2 separate regions of the Homo sapiens genome follow, and region 1 is linked to region 2. The links are contacts of gene promoters, found by promoter capture Hi-C in human tissues and cell types (Jung and others, 2019). All regions are on one chromosome and are shown on one strand. The core of a region is centred on a gene start or on the middle of the fragment in contact, and the rest is flanking DNA. Distances in the headings are between cores, read along the strand shown. Region 1 overlaps CLTCL1 (clathrin heavy chain like 1). Region 2 holds the start of CLDN5 (claudin 5).

Region 1 (6,227 bases), core at 2,388-4,887, 260 kb after region 2:
TTTGTGGGAAGATTTTAAATTTCAAATTCAACTTCCTTACTTGCTGTGAATCTGTTCAGATTTTCTGTTTTCTTGTGTCAGTTTTGGTAATTTGTGTCTTTCTAGGAATGTATCCAGGTTATCTAAGTCTTCTAGTATGTTGACATAAAATTGTTCATAATATTCGCTTCTTTTAATTTCTTTGGGGTTGGCAGTGGTGCCCTCTTTCATTCTTAATTTTGATAATTTGTGTCTTCTGTTTTTTTCTTGATCATTAACTAAGGTTTGGGTCAGGCCTGGTGGCTCATACCTGTAATCCCAGCACTTTGGGAGTCTGAAGTGACAGGATCACTTGGGACCAGAAGTTCAAGACCAGCCTGGGCAACATAGGGAGACTCCATCTCTACAAATTAAAAAACAAAAACAAAAAACTAGCCAGTGTGGTAGTACGTGTCTGTGGTTCCAGCTACTCAGAAGTCTGAGGCTTGAGGATCATCCTAAGCCCATTATGTCAAGGCTACAGTGAGCTGGGATAGTGCCATTGCACTCCAGCCTAGGTAACAGAGTGAGACCCTGTCTGTAAAAATAAATAAATAAGATTTGTTAGTTTTCTTGATTGTTTTGAAAAACCCTACTTCTGGCAAGGTGTATATAGGCTGCTTCAGGAACATGCGCACAGCTGCCTACCCTGTGCCTTTCTTGTTAAAATGTAGCATACCATTTTAATTCTTCTGAATTTTTCTTTTTACTATTTTGTGTATGTATGTGTATTTTTATGGTGGTTGCTGTAGGGTTTATAAAATGCATCCTAACATCACAAATGATTTCAGATTATTAATATTAACTTCTGTTAAAATGCAGAAATTTCACTCCAGCATAGCTTCATTTCCTCCTCCCTCTGTTGTGCTATTTTTATCATTCATATATATGAATATATAAAATATATTAAAAAAGAGAAAATAAGATGCATATATGCATCTATATATGTTATAAACTCAACAACCTGTAGTTTTATTGTGGTTTTAAATGATATTATTTAATGAAATTAAGAGAAATCTTTATACTAACCAACATATTTATCATATCCAGTGCTCTTTATTTCTTTTTGTGGATTTGAGCTCCCATCTTAGTTCAGTCTGATTAGAAGTCATTTACCATAAGCTGTTAGTGCCTGAAGACAGTGAGGGTCTAACATTTACCATTTTGACTAGAGAGCAAAACTACATCACACCTAAATTATGTCCAAAAGCAGTTGTTTTATAAATTTATATAGTTTAAACTTAAGTTGATAATATAGTTATAGCTAACTTTAGAACTGTTTTATGGCAGCAGGCCTTTATCTTACTGATCATGTGTTTTGGATATAAATTGTATCAAATTTCGGCTGGGCACGGTGGCTCACACCTGTAATCCCAGCACTTTGGGAGCACAAGGTAGGTGGATCACCTGAGGTCAGGAGTTTGAGACCAGCCTGGCCAACATGGTGAAACCCTGTCTCTACTAAAAATACAAAAATTTGCTGGGCATGTTGGTGTATGCCTATAATCCCAGCTACTTGGGACGCTGAAGGAGGACAATCACTTGAATCCGGGAGGCGGAGGTTGCAATGAACCTAGATCGACCCATTGCACTCCAGCTTGGGCCCCAAAAGCGAAACTCTGTCTCAAAAAAAAAAAAATTGCATGAAATTTCACCATTGAGTTGCTCCTTTTTGTGAATTCAAGAAATCATCTTAATTATTGCCCAGGTATATCATGATATCATTAAAGACTTTCTGTTAGCAACAGCAGCCTTATTTCTCAAATTGTGGTTTAAAACCAGTTTTGCTAATTGATGATAATATTGTAATAATATCAGTTGTTGCGTAGCTTGGCTAACTAACTGGATAGTCAGATTAACTCTTTTTTTCTAGCTGTGTACCTCAGAGATAGTAGTACCTCAAAAAAAGCTAGATCTGTAAATAATTCCGCTGTTAACATGAGTGTACAGATGTCTTTTGGGGAACCTGTTTTTAATCCTTTTAATTCTATACCCACAAGTAATTGACTGGATCATATCATTATTCATTTTTAATTTTTTTGAGGAACTGCCATCTCTTTTCTATAGTGGTTGCACTATTTTATATTCTCAGTAGTGCACAGGGTTCCAATTTTTTCACATTCTTGCTAACACTTGTTATTTGTATTGTTTTCTTTTTAATGGTAGCCATTTTTTTTTTTTTTTAAGAGACTGTAACTTCGAACTCCTGGACTCAAGCTATCCTCCTACCTCAGCCTCCCAAGTAGCTAGGACTATAGGCATGCGCCACTACAACCAGCTAATTAAAAACATTTTTTCTTTGTAGAGACAGGGTCTTGCCATGTTGCCCAGGCTGTCTTAAACTCTTGGCCTCACATGATCATCCCGTCTCAGCTTCCCAAAGCGCTAGGATTACAGGCGTGAACCACTCCACGTGGGTCATTTTTTAACTGGACTATTTGTGTTTTTTGTTGTTGAGTTGTAGGCATTCTTTATATATTCTGGATATTAACCCCTTGTCAGATATATGATTTCCATATACAGGCATACCTTGAAGATATTTTGAGTTCAATTCCAAACTACCACAATAAAAAGAATATTACAATAGTGAGTTACATGAATTTTTTGGTTTCCCAGTGCATATAAAAGTTATGTTTATACTATGCTGTAATCTATTAAGTGTGAAATAGCATTATGTCTAAAAAAATGGATTATCTTAATTAAAAAATAATTTGGCTGGGTGCAGTGGCTCACGCCTATAATCCCAGCACTTTGGGAGGCCGAGGCAGGAGAATCACAAGGTCAGGAGATCAAGACCATCCTGGCTAACACAGTGAAACCCTGTCTCTACTAAAAATACAAAACCCAAAAATTAGCTGGGCGTGGTGGCGGTTGCCTGTAGTCCCAGCCTGTCAAGAGGCTGAGGCGGAGAATGGTGTGAACCCGGGAGGCAGAGGTTGCAGTGAGCCAAGACTGCGCCACTGCACTTCAGCCTGGGTGACAGAGTGAGACTCCATCTCAAAAAATAAAAATAAAAATAAAAATAAATAATTTATGGCCAGGCATGGTGGCATATACCTCTAATCCTAGTACTTTCAGAGGCCAAGGTGGGAAGATCGCTTGAGCCTAAGAATTCAAGAGCAGCATGGCAAAGAATACAGTGAGACCTTAGCTCAAAAAAAAAAAAAAAAAATTCTGGGTGTGGTGGTGCACGCCTGTAGTCTCACCTACTCAAGGAGGCTGAGATGGGAGAATATCTTGAGCCCAGGAGTCTGATGACTGCATGTCAGCCTGGGTTACAGAGAGAGACTCTGTCTCAAAATAAATAAATAAATAAATGAATAATCTATTTATTTATTCCTAAAAATTGCTTACCATTATCAGCCTTCAGTGAGTTGTAATCTTTTTTTTTTTTTTTTTTAAAGATGGAGTCTCTCTCTGTCACCCAGGCTGGAGTGCAGTGGCGTTATCTCAACTCTCTGCAACTTCTGTTTACCAGGGTTAAGGGATCCTCCTGCCTCAGCCTCCCGAGTAGCTGGGATTACAAGCACGTGCGACCACGCCCAGCTAATTTTTGTATTTTTAGTAGAGATGGGGTTTCACCATGTTGGCCAGGCTGATCTCGAACTCCTGACCTCAAGTGATCTGCCGGCCTCAGCCTCCCAAAGTGCTGGGATTACAGGCATGAGCCACTGTACCCAGCTGCGAGTTGTAAACTTTTTACTGGTGGAGGGTCTTGCCTTGATGCCAATGGCTGCTGATTGATCACAGTGGTGGTGGCTGAAGGCTGGAGTGGCTGTGGCAATTTTTTTTTTTTTTTTGAGACAGAGTCTTACCCTGTTGCCCAGGCTGGAGTGCAGTAGTGCAATCTCGGCTCACTGTAAGCTCCGCCTCCCGGGTTCATGCCATTCTCCTGCCTCAGCCTCCCAAATAGGTGGGACCACAGGCACCTGCCACCAAGCCCAGCCAATTTTTTGTATTTTTAGTAGAGATGGGGTTTCACCACATTAGCCAGGATGGTCTCCATCTCCTGACTTCGTGATCCACCTGCCTCAGCCTCCCAAAGTGCTGGGACTACAGGCATGAGCCACCGCGACAGGCTGGCAATTTCTTAAAATAAGACATCAGGCTGGGTGCGGTGGCTTATGCCTGTAATCCCAGCACTTTGGGAGGCTGAGGCAGGCAGATCATGAGGTCAAGAGATCGAGACCATCCTGGCCAACATGGTGAAACCCCGTCTCTACTAAAAATACAAAAAAATTAGCTGGGCCTGGTGGCACGCTCCTGTAGTCCCAGCTACTTGGGAGGCTGAGGCAGGAGAATCGCTTGAATCCGGGAGGTGGAGGTTGCAGTGAGCCAAGATCACGCCACTGCACTCCAGTCTGGCAACAGAGTGAGACTCCATCTCAAAAAACAAATAAATAAATAATAAATAATTTTAAAAAAAGACATCAGTGAGGTTTCCGCAGGGATTGACTCTTCCTTTAATGAAAGATTGCTCTGTAGCGTGCAATGCTGTTTGCTAACATTTTACCCACAGTAGACTTCTTCCAGAATTGGAGTCAGTCCTTTCAGACTCTGGTGCTGCTTTATCAGGTAAGTTTATGTACTGTTCTAAATTCTTGTAGTAATTTCAACAGTGTTCACAGCATCTTCACTGGGAGTAGATTCCATTGGAAGAAACCCCTTTCTTTGGTCATCCCTAAGAAGCAGCCCTCATCTGTTCAAGTTTGATCCTGAGATTGCAACAATTCAGTCCCATCTTCAGGCTCCACTTCTAATTCTCTTGCTGTTTCTACCACATCTGCAATGACTTCCTCCACTGAAGTCCTGAACCTCACAAAGTCATTCATGAGGGTTGGAATACACTTCTTCCAAATTCCTGTTAATATTGATATTTTGATCTCCTCTCGTGAATCACGAATGTTCTTAGTTGCATCTAGAATGGTGAATCCTTTCCAGGAGGTTATCAATTTACTTCGCCTAGATCCATCAAAGGAGACATATTTATGGCAGCTGTAGCCTTTAAAAATGTATTTCTTAGGCTGGGCACGGTGGCTTCCGCCTGTAATCCCAGCACTGTGGGAGGCTGAGGCGGGTGGATCACAAGGTCAGGAGGTCGAGACCATCCTGGCTAACACGGTGAAACCCCTTCTCTATTAAAAATACAAGACATTAGCTGGGCATGGTTGGGCGCCTGTAGTCCCAGCTACTGGGGAGGCTGAGGCAGGAGAATGGCGTGAACCCGGGAGGCGGAGCTTGCAGTGAGCCAAGATTACGCCACTGCACTCCAGCCTGGGCAACAGAGCAAAGACTCCGTCTCAAAAAAAAAAAAAATGCATTTCTTAAATAATAAGACTTGAAAGGTGAAATTACTCTTTGATCCACGGATTGCAGAATTGATGTGTTAGCAGGCATGAAAACAGCTTTCATCTCCTTGTATATCTCCGTCAGAGCTCTTAGGTGACCAGGTGCATTGTCAAAGAGCAGTAATCTTTTGAAAGGAACCTTTTTTTTTTTTTCTGATCAGTAGATCTGAACAGTGAGTTTTAAATATTCAGTAAATCATGCTGTAAACAGATGTACTATCATCACGACTCTTGTTTTTCCATTCATAGAACACAGGCAGAGGAGATTTAGCATAATTCTTTTTTTTTTTTTTTTTTTTTTTTTGAGACAGAGTTTCACTCTTGTTGCCCAGGCTGGAGTGCAGTGGCACGATATTGGCTCACCGCAACCTCCACCTCCCGAGTTCAAGGGATTCTCCTGCCTCAGCCTCCCAAGTAGCTGGAATTACAGGCATGCACCACCATGCCCGGCTAATTTTTTGTATTTTTAGTAGAGACGGGGTTTCTTTCCACGTTGGTCAGGCTGATCTCGAACTCCTGACCTCAAGTGATCTGCCTGCCTCAGCCTTCCAAAGTGCTGGGATTACAGGTGTGAGCCACTGCGCCCAGTCAATTTAGCATAATTCTTAAGGGCCTTAGGATTTTTGGAGTGGTCGGTGAGCATTCCTTCCATTTAAAGTTACCAGCTGCATTATCCCCTAACAAGAGAGTTAACCTGTCTTCTGAAGCTTTGAAGCCAGGCATTGACTTCTCTCTTGCTTGAGTCCTAAATGGCATCTTTTTCCAGTAGGAGGTTGTTTCTTCTCCATTGAAAATTTGTTCATCAATGATCTTAGCTAGGTCGTCTGGAGAACTTGACACAGCTTCTGCATCAGAACTTGC
Region 2 (7,184 bases), core at 1,406-3,905:
GCCTCCATCTGAGGTGGGTTTGTCTGGGGTGGCGTCAGCCCCTGCGGCCCTCTCTGGGCCTCTCTGCATTGGCATTGTTCCACTGCAGCCTGGGGCCTCGACCAACATAGTGGGGTCAGGGTAGAAACCAGATTGTGAAAGGTGAAGCCTGAGACTCCTCTGCCACGTCCCTGAGATGCTGTGAGGCTGCCGCCAAAGAAACATGAGCTTGCTGGGGCCACCCTAGGGTGACAGCTAGGAGAGAAGAAAAACAGGCAGCCAGGTGAGAAGGGAGAGCCTTGGGCTGGCTGCAGCTCCAAGCTGGCTAGAGGGCAACAGGCAGCCTCCTGTGCAGGACAGACGCATGAAGACAGCCACCCTGTGGAGGTTATTCCTGGATACTAGGTGGGAAAGTCGGCAAGCAAAAGGACAGGTCCAGCTCAAGCTTCTAAAAGCAATGCTGGGGGACGGTGCAGCAAGGTGTTCCTGGAAATGACCTCGGCAACACATCTTAGAAGATGAGCAGGACCCAACCTGACAGATACACGCTGCGGGCAGAAGAGGCCAAGGTAAGAGACGGCCCATGTGAGGCCCATAGGCAGGTAAGTCTCCTGGGGCAGAGTGTGTGCTCAGGGCCGCACCAAGACTGGTGGCTGGACTGGCCAGTCCTAGCGCATGCAGGTACACATCAATCCAGCTGCTCTGGGAGTCGGCTCTTCGTCCATGGGCAATGTGAGCCATGGAGGGTCTTAGGTAGGGTGAGGCCCAGGAGAGGGGCCTGGTGGGGTGGGTGGCCTAGCTGGGCAAGGGCAGGTCCCTGATGACCTGAGGAGGCCGCAGCAGTCATCCCAGGAAGATGGTGGCATGGAAGGGCTGGGAGTAGGGGGATCTGGGGAAGTTCCCTGGGCTTGGGTTAGGGGGTAGTAAGAGTGAGAGGGTGGGTGGGTCAGCTGTACCCCTGGAGTACACAGAGGAGGAGATGTCCAGGAGGGTCTGTAGAGGAAGGGGCATGGCCCATGGGTCTGCAGCAGGAGGAAGGCAGTGACTAAAGTGATAGCTGGGAGAAGGCAGTGGTCCTCAGAGCCATACCTGGTGGGGAGAGGCCACGTGGGGCTGAGCAAAGAGGGTATGATTTCCTTCCAGCCTCAGGGCTGGGCACACTTGCCTTCAGAACCTCCCCACACTAGGTGAGCCAGACGCTGGCCTTATCTCATTTACCATCTCAGAGCCATCTGAAGGGGGAGAAGGGAACCGGGCCCCAGGAGGGAGAAAGTCATCAAACCTCCCACATCTGTGACCAGCCTCAGTGCCATACTTTTTCTATGGAGGGCCCTGTCCAATGGAACTGAGCACAGACCAGATAAAAGAACTGGGCACCCAGTGGCCTCAGTCCAGGGCCTGGAGTTCAAACTTTACTGGAAACAAAGGGGCCGAGAGAGACTGGGGAAAGAACTACTAGAAAGGGGCTGGTGCCCCCATGGGGCTGTGGGTTTTGGAGCCGCGTGCCCCCACCTGAGCCTCAGGGGGCCCGGAGTGTCCACACCAGTGGACCTTTCGAGAAATGGCTGGGCCATTGTGCAGAAGAATGCCCGGAAATCCCGCGCCTCCCTCCTCCAGCAAGGATGGGGGCTCTTCCTCCTGGCCAGGAAACTCCAAGTTGGCTTCCGGAGGGTGGCCTGGGGGCTGGGGTGCCAGGGACACCATCGCCACTGGTGGGAGGGCAGGGCACAGCCCCTCCGTGTCCCTTTGTCTCTCCTGTCTGAAGGCCAGAGCAGGCTGCTAGGCCTGGGGCCACCACTGCCCCTGGGTGCTACACCCAGTGTGCTGGGTCACTGGGAACTTCCTGAAGTGGTGTCACCTGAACTGGGCCCCCAAGGATGGGGTGCGGGCAGTACCGCAGGAAGAGGAGCAGCCCCTGTGAAGATTGAGAGGTCTGGGAAGCCCCTGCGGCTTGGGAGAGTGGGGGTCGCCAGGCAGGGGGAAAGCCCCTGTGCCACCGCTTTTTGCCAGAGACTCAGGCTCCAGAGAGGCAGTGAGTGGCATGGGGGGTGAGGCTGGGGCCCTGGGCCTGACCTCCACACGCCTGCCTGGCCTCTCTGTTTGCCATGGGATGAGAGAGACAGTGCTGGGACTCAGAGCGGGGCTGGAGAGTGAGAGTGCGAGAAAGGGCCTGGGTGGGGCTTGGACCCCGGGGCGGGCTTTCTGGAGAGCCCCCCTACGAGGGCCTCTACGGCGGTGACGGGGTGGGGGGCTTCTGCAAACCTTGGTCAGGGAAGTGGAGCTGGCTCGAGTGGAAGAGACCACCCGGCTCAGTCGGGGATGTGGGAGTGGACTGGGTGGTGCAGACTGGGGGTCGAGCGCCTTCTGAAGTGACGGGGCCGGGACGCGCAGGGAGGCGGCCCAAGAAGCGCGCCCTAGGCCAGCCCAGAATGCGCTCGGCCGCGACTAGGACAACGGCGGGTGGGGCTGGGGGCGGCTGCCGGGCGGGGAGCGGTCCCGCGCCCTCAGCTACCCCTCAAGAGCCGTTGTTTCCCTAACTTCAGCTGCCAGAGGCTCTGTGATTGGCTGCGGCACGATGACCCGCGCACGGATTGGCTGCTTCGGGCCGGGGGGCCGGGCCCGGGGGACAGAATCCGCCCCCGAACCTTCAAAGAGGGTACCCCCCGGCAGGAGCTGGCAGACCCAGGAGGTGCGACAGACCCGCGGGGCAAACGGACTGGGGCCAAGAGCCGGGAGCGCGGGCGCAAAGGCACCAGGGCCCGCCCAGGGCGCCGCGCAGCACGGCCTTGGGGGTTCTGCGGGCCTTCGGGTGCGCGTCTCGCCTCTAGCCATGGGGTCCGCAGCGTTGGAGATCCTGGGCCTGGTGCTGTGCCTGGTGGGCTGGGGGGGTCTGATCCTGGCGTGCGGGCTGCCCATGTGGCAGGTGACCGCCTTCCTGGACCACAACATCGTGACGGCGCAGACCACCTGGAAGGGGCTGTGGATGTCGTGCGTGGTGCAGAGCACCGGGCACATGCAGTGCAAAGTGTACGACTCGGTGCTGGCTCTGAGCACCGAGGTGCAGGCGGCGCGGGCGCTCACCGTGAGCGCCGTGCTGCTGGCGTTCGTTGCGCTCTTCGTGACCCTGGCGGGCGCGCAGTGCACCACCTGCGTGGCCCCGGGCCCGGCCAAGGCGCGTGTGGCCCTCACGGGAGGCGTGCTCTACCTGTTTTGCGGGCTGCTGGCGCTCGTGCCACTCTGCTGGTTCGCCAACATTGTCGTCCGCGAGTTTTACGACCCGTCTGTGCCCGTGTCGCAGAAGTACGAGCTGGGCGCAGCGCTGTACATCGGCTGGGCGGCCACCGCGCTGCTCATGGTAGGCGGCTGCCTCTTGTGCTGCGGCGCCTGGGTCTGCACCGGCCGTCCCGACCTCAGCTTCCCCGTGAAGTACTCAGCGCCGCGGCGGCCCACGGCCACCGGCGACTACGACAAGAAGAACTACGTCTGAGGGCGCTGGGCACGGCCGGGCCCCTCCTGCCAGCCACGCCTGCGAGGCGTTGGATAAGCCTGGGGAGCCCCGCATGGACCGCGGCTTCCGCCGGGTAGCGCGGCGCGCAGGCTCCTCGGAACGTCCGGCTCTGCGCCCCGACGCGGCTCCTGGATCCGCTCCTGCCTGCGCCCGCAGCTGACCTTCTCCTGCCACTAGCCCGGCCCTGCCCTTAACAGACGGAATGAAGTTTCCTTTTCTGTGCGCGGCGCTGTTTCCATAGGCAGAGCGGGTGTCAGACTGAGGATTTCGCTTCCCCTCCAAGACGCTGGGGGTCTTGGCTGCTGCCTTACTTCCCAGAGGCTCCTGCTGACTTCGGAGGGGCGGATGCAGAGCCCAGGGCCCCCACCGGAAGATGTGTACAGCTGGTCTTTACTCCATCGGCAGGGCCCGAGCCCAGGGACCAGTGACTTGGCCTGGACCTCCCGGTCTCACTCCAGCATCTCCCCAGGCAAGGCTTGTGGGCACCGGAGCTTGAGAGAGGGCGGGAGTGGGAAGGCTAAGAATCTGCTTAGTAAATGGTTTGAACTCTCTCCCACCTGTGTCCTGTTCTCTGTCCAGCCATCTTCCGTGTCCAGCAGCCCCATTCATCACCCACCAGCCCCGCCCTCCCAAGGACTCCTGTGGAGACCTCCTCCCAGGGCTGGAGGCTGGGGCTCTTTTCCCCATCCTCCCTGCCACCTTCCCACCAGGTGGGAGACACAGCCACCACTTACTACAGCCCAGAAAGGCGGGATCTGCGGTCAGAAGAGCTGCTGCGTCATGGGGCCCTGGGGCCCGGGATGGGACAGGGGCGGGGGCAGCGGCAGACCCCAGCAGAAGATGCGGGGTGAAGCGCCCTCAACACAGGCTGGTGAGTGGGGGTCCTGCGGTGTGGGAAGTGCTGGGGGTGAGCAGCCAGGCCGCTGGCTTCTCCCAGAAAGGGCCAAGCCCCACACAGCACAGGGTGAGGTTTTCCACTGCCCTCTCAGGGCTTGCCTAGTCCCAAGCCCCATCAAGTGGCCACAGAGGTCTGTAGAATCCCCGACCAGGCCCTTTCCAATGGTGGGTGGGGCAGGAACAGGGGTGAATGCAGGACACGCCGGTCAACAGTAGGGTTGCCATGGGAGGAGGTGCTGGCAGCTGGTTGCCTGGAGTACCACAGCTTGGCTCTAGCCCCTCGTCCTGGCTCCTCTGCCAGTCCCAGCGCAGCTCCCTACAGAGCCTGTACCCACCCTGCTGGCCTGGCAGCCTGCCCAGAATGGTGCTCACAACCAGCACCTGTGCCAGCCCCTGCTGGGGGCACTCTGGGTAACCTTCCTCCTCCAGGGGCTGTGTGGCCTGGGAGTCAGTGCTGGCCCCTGCCAGGCACCTCGGAATGGGGGTGTCTAGAGCCATCTAACATAGCCACTGAGAGCTCACTGTTTTTAGCCTTGTTCTAGGCACTTTGAATTAACACATTTTTGACATTTGACATAAAGCTAGAAGCAGAAGAGAGCAGCTGATGAAGGGGGCATGCTGCAGGGAAGAGCTCTAAGCCCAGCCGGAAGGGAGACTTGGTATCTGCCCCAAACTGGACTTGGGGGCCCTGCCCAGAAATGTCTGGGCCACATCCAGTGGCAGGGAGTCTCCTAGGTCTGGCCAGGCTACCATCATGGAGCAGTGGGAGAACCCCAAGAATGCAGGCTCAGAGTGGCTTAGGGCAGCTGCTGGAATGTGTGGCAGCTTCCTGGGAGCTGCTGTGGAACCAGCCGGTGGGATGAGTTACAGGGAGAGGGGCCCCACGGTGCAGAGGTCCTCAGCAGGCCTGACCTGTACCCCACCTGGGCCTGTACAACAGGGACCAAGAATAGTCCCCAAGCTTGGGAGTGTGTGATCCCAGAGCTGTGGCCCTGGGCAGAGCCAAAAACAATGGTCCTTACACTCTTGCACCTGGCCACCGGGACTGGGTAGTACCAGGTCTGGTGTGTTTGGTCAGAAGCTGAGGCCCAAGGCTGCCTGGGAGGGCATTCCTAAGAAAGCCTTTTCCTAAGAAAGGACAGGCACGGGGCTGGGCACGGTGGCTCACGCCTGTAATCCCAGCACTTTGGAAGGCCGACGTGGGCGGATCACAGGGTCAGGACATCAAGACCATTCTGGCCAACGTGGTGACACCCGTCTGTACTAAAAATACAAAAATTAGCTGGGCGTGGTGGTGTGTGCCTGTAATCCCAGCTACTCGGGAGGCTGAGACAGGAGAACCACTTGAACTCGGGAGGCAGAGGTTGCAGTGTGCCGAGATCGCACCAACTGCACTCTAGTCTGGTGACAGAGCGAGACTCTGTCTCAAAAAAAGGAAAGAAAGGGCATGGAAAGGAAGCTGCACAGCCTTTGAATTTTCCCAAATGGCCAGGGTAGGCAGCTCAAGGGTCCCGGGAAGCTGTGCAAACCACCAGAGGTGAGGGGAGGGGCCCAGCCTCCAGTCCAGCTCTCACCCTTTTGTGCCCACTGCCCTTTGCCAAGGGCTGCACCAAGACCAGCCCCACCTACCTGTGTGCTCTTTTCCAGGCCACTCTTTCTGAGCTTTTCCCCACTGACTTAAAACCTACCCAAATCACTCCTGCCTTCAAAGACCTGGAAAAGAGTGCTGGATGGTGAGACCCACAGGTGGAGGGATGGCTGAGAGGGTGGACTTGCTATGTGGCTGAGGCCAGGTGGACCAGAGGAAGTGGTAGGTGGACAGAGCCAGGTGCTGGCTGGCACCACCAGGCAGTGGCCGGTGCAGGTGCTATGAGGAGGCGGGGATGCCGAGGGGTCCTGACCTCTGTCCACTGCCACCCGGAGGGCCTGGAGGACAGAGTAAGGAGATCTTGTCCTTGGGGCCAATCCCCATGCTGATTTCCTGCCAGGCACTGAGGGCTCCTGGGGCCCAAGACCCACAGAAGGCTCAGAGCACACTCAAGCACTGGCCTCGAGACCAGAGCCACAATGGGGACGGAGCCTAAAATAAGCATTTTATTTAATAAAAAATGGCTTCTACATCTCAAATCATGTCCATAACTTACAATCTAAATGAAAGCCAGTTACATAAATAAGAAGGTCATTCTGGAAGAATCAAATTCTAGAAAACAAAACAAGAAAAAACAAGTTTCAAACGATGTTGATGTGCCACCGAATTGAAGAAACTGCCCAGGCGTCCCCTCTGGGTAGTGCTGCTGAGTAGCCAGGACTGCTTGTGGGGGTGAGGCCACCCCAGACTCGGAGGCCCCTGCTGTCCTCATAGCACCCCTTGACTGGGCTGAGCTGTCCTACATCAGAGCTCCTGCCCCCTGGCCCGGGCACCTTCTTACCTCACGGACCCCGCCCAGCTGCTCAGCCAGCCCCCTGGCACCCTCCCATGGGGGCTCTCCCTCCATCCCTCGGCACTCTGCTGCTCAGCCCTCCTAGCCCAGGCCACCTGTGCCCCTGCCTCAGTGGAAGGACACACAGCAGCATAACATCACCACCAAGCAGGCTGCAGGGGAGGGGTTTGCCTCTAGCACCCACTCCACTGCCAGAGAGCCCCACCTCTGCCTCCGCCCCACCCTATGCAGTCCTGTGATGCTCACACTCATCGTCTAAGGAGAGAGTGGGCCCCATTTTTGGATGAGGAAACAGGCTAAGCCTGATTAGGTGGCTGGCCCAAGGTCACTGCTGATGACCCTACAGAACTTGCCAAAAA

Evidence for each region. The method cuts DNA at HindIII sites, captures the fragments that hold promoters and counts their contacts. A contact is called where the count stands out against the background at its distance.
Region 1: a fragment that was not itself captured here is called in contact with the fragment with the promoter of CLDN5 in region 2 in 2 of the 25 tissues and cell types used here (dorsolateral prefrontal cortex and spleen).

The regions. Positions count from the first base shown.
Region 1 is chr22:19,260,223-19,266,449 of GRCh38, reverse strand. The region is part of intron 2 of CLTCL1 (clathrin heavy chain like 1); the gene reads left to right. Among named protein-coding and RNA genes, the nearest start is that of CLTCL1, 28 kb to the left of the region's middle. The HindIII fragment of the contact is 6,328 bases long and covers 474-6,227 here.
Region 2 is chr22:19,519,881-19,527,064 of GRCh38, reverse strand. It overlaps CLDN5 (claudin 5), which reads left to right and starts at 2,655. Exons shown (of 1, transcript NM_001363066.2): 1 at 2,655-4,038. The coding sequence starts at 2,810. The coding sequence ends at 3,466. It overlaps CDC45 (cell division cycle 45), which reads right to left. Exons shown (of 19, transcript NM_003504.5): 19 at 6,457-6,584. RefSeq lists an enhancer at 4,040-4,972. The HindIII fragment of the contact is 10,668 bases long and covers 1-2,885 here.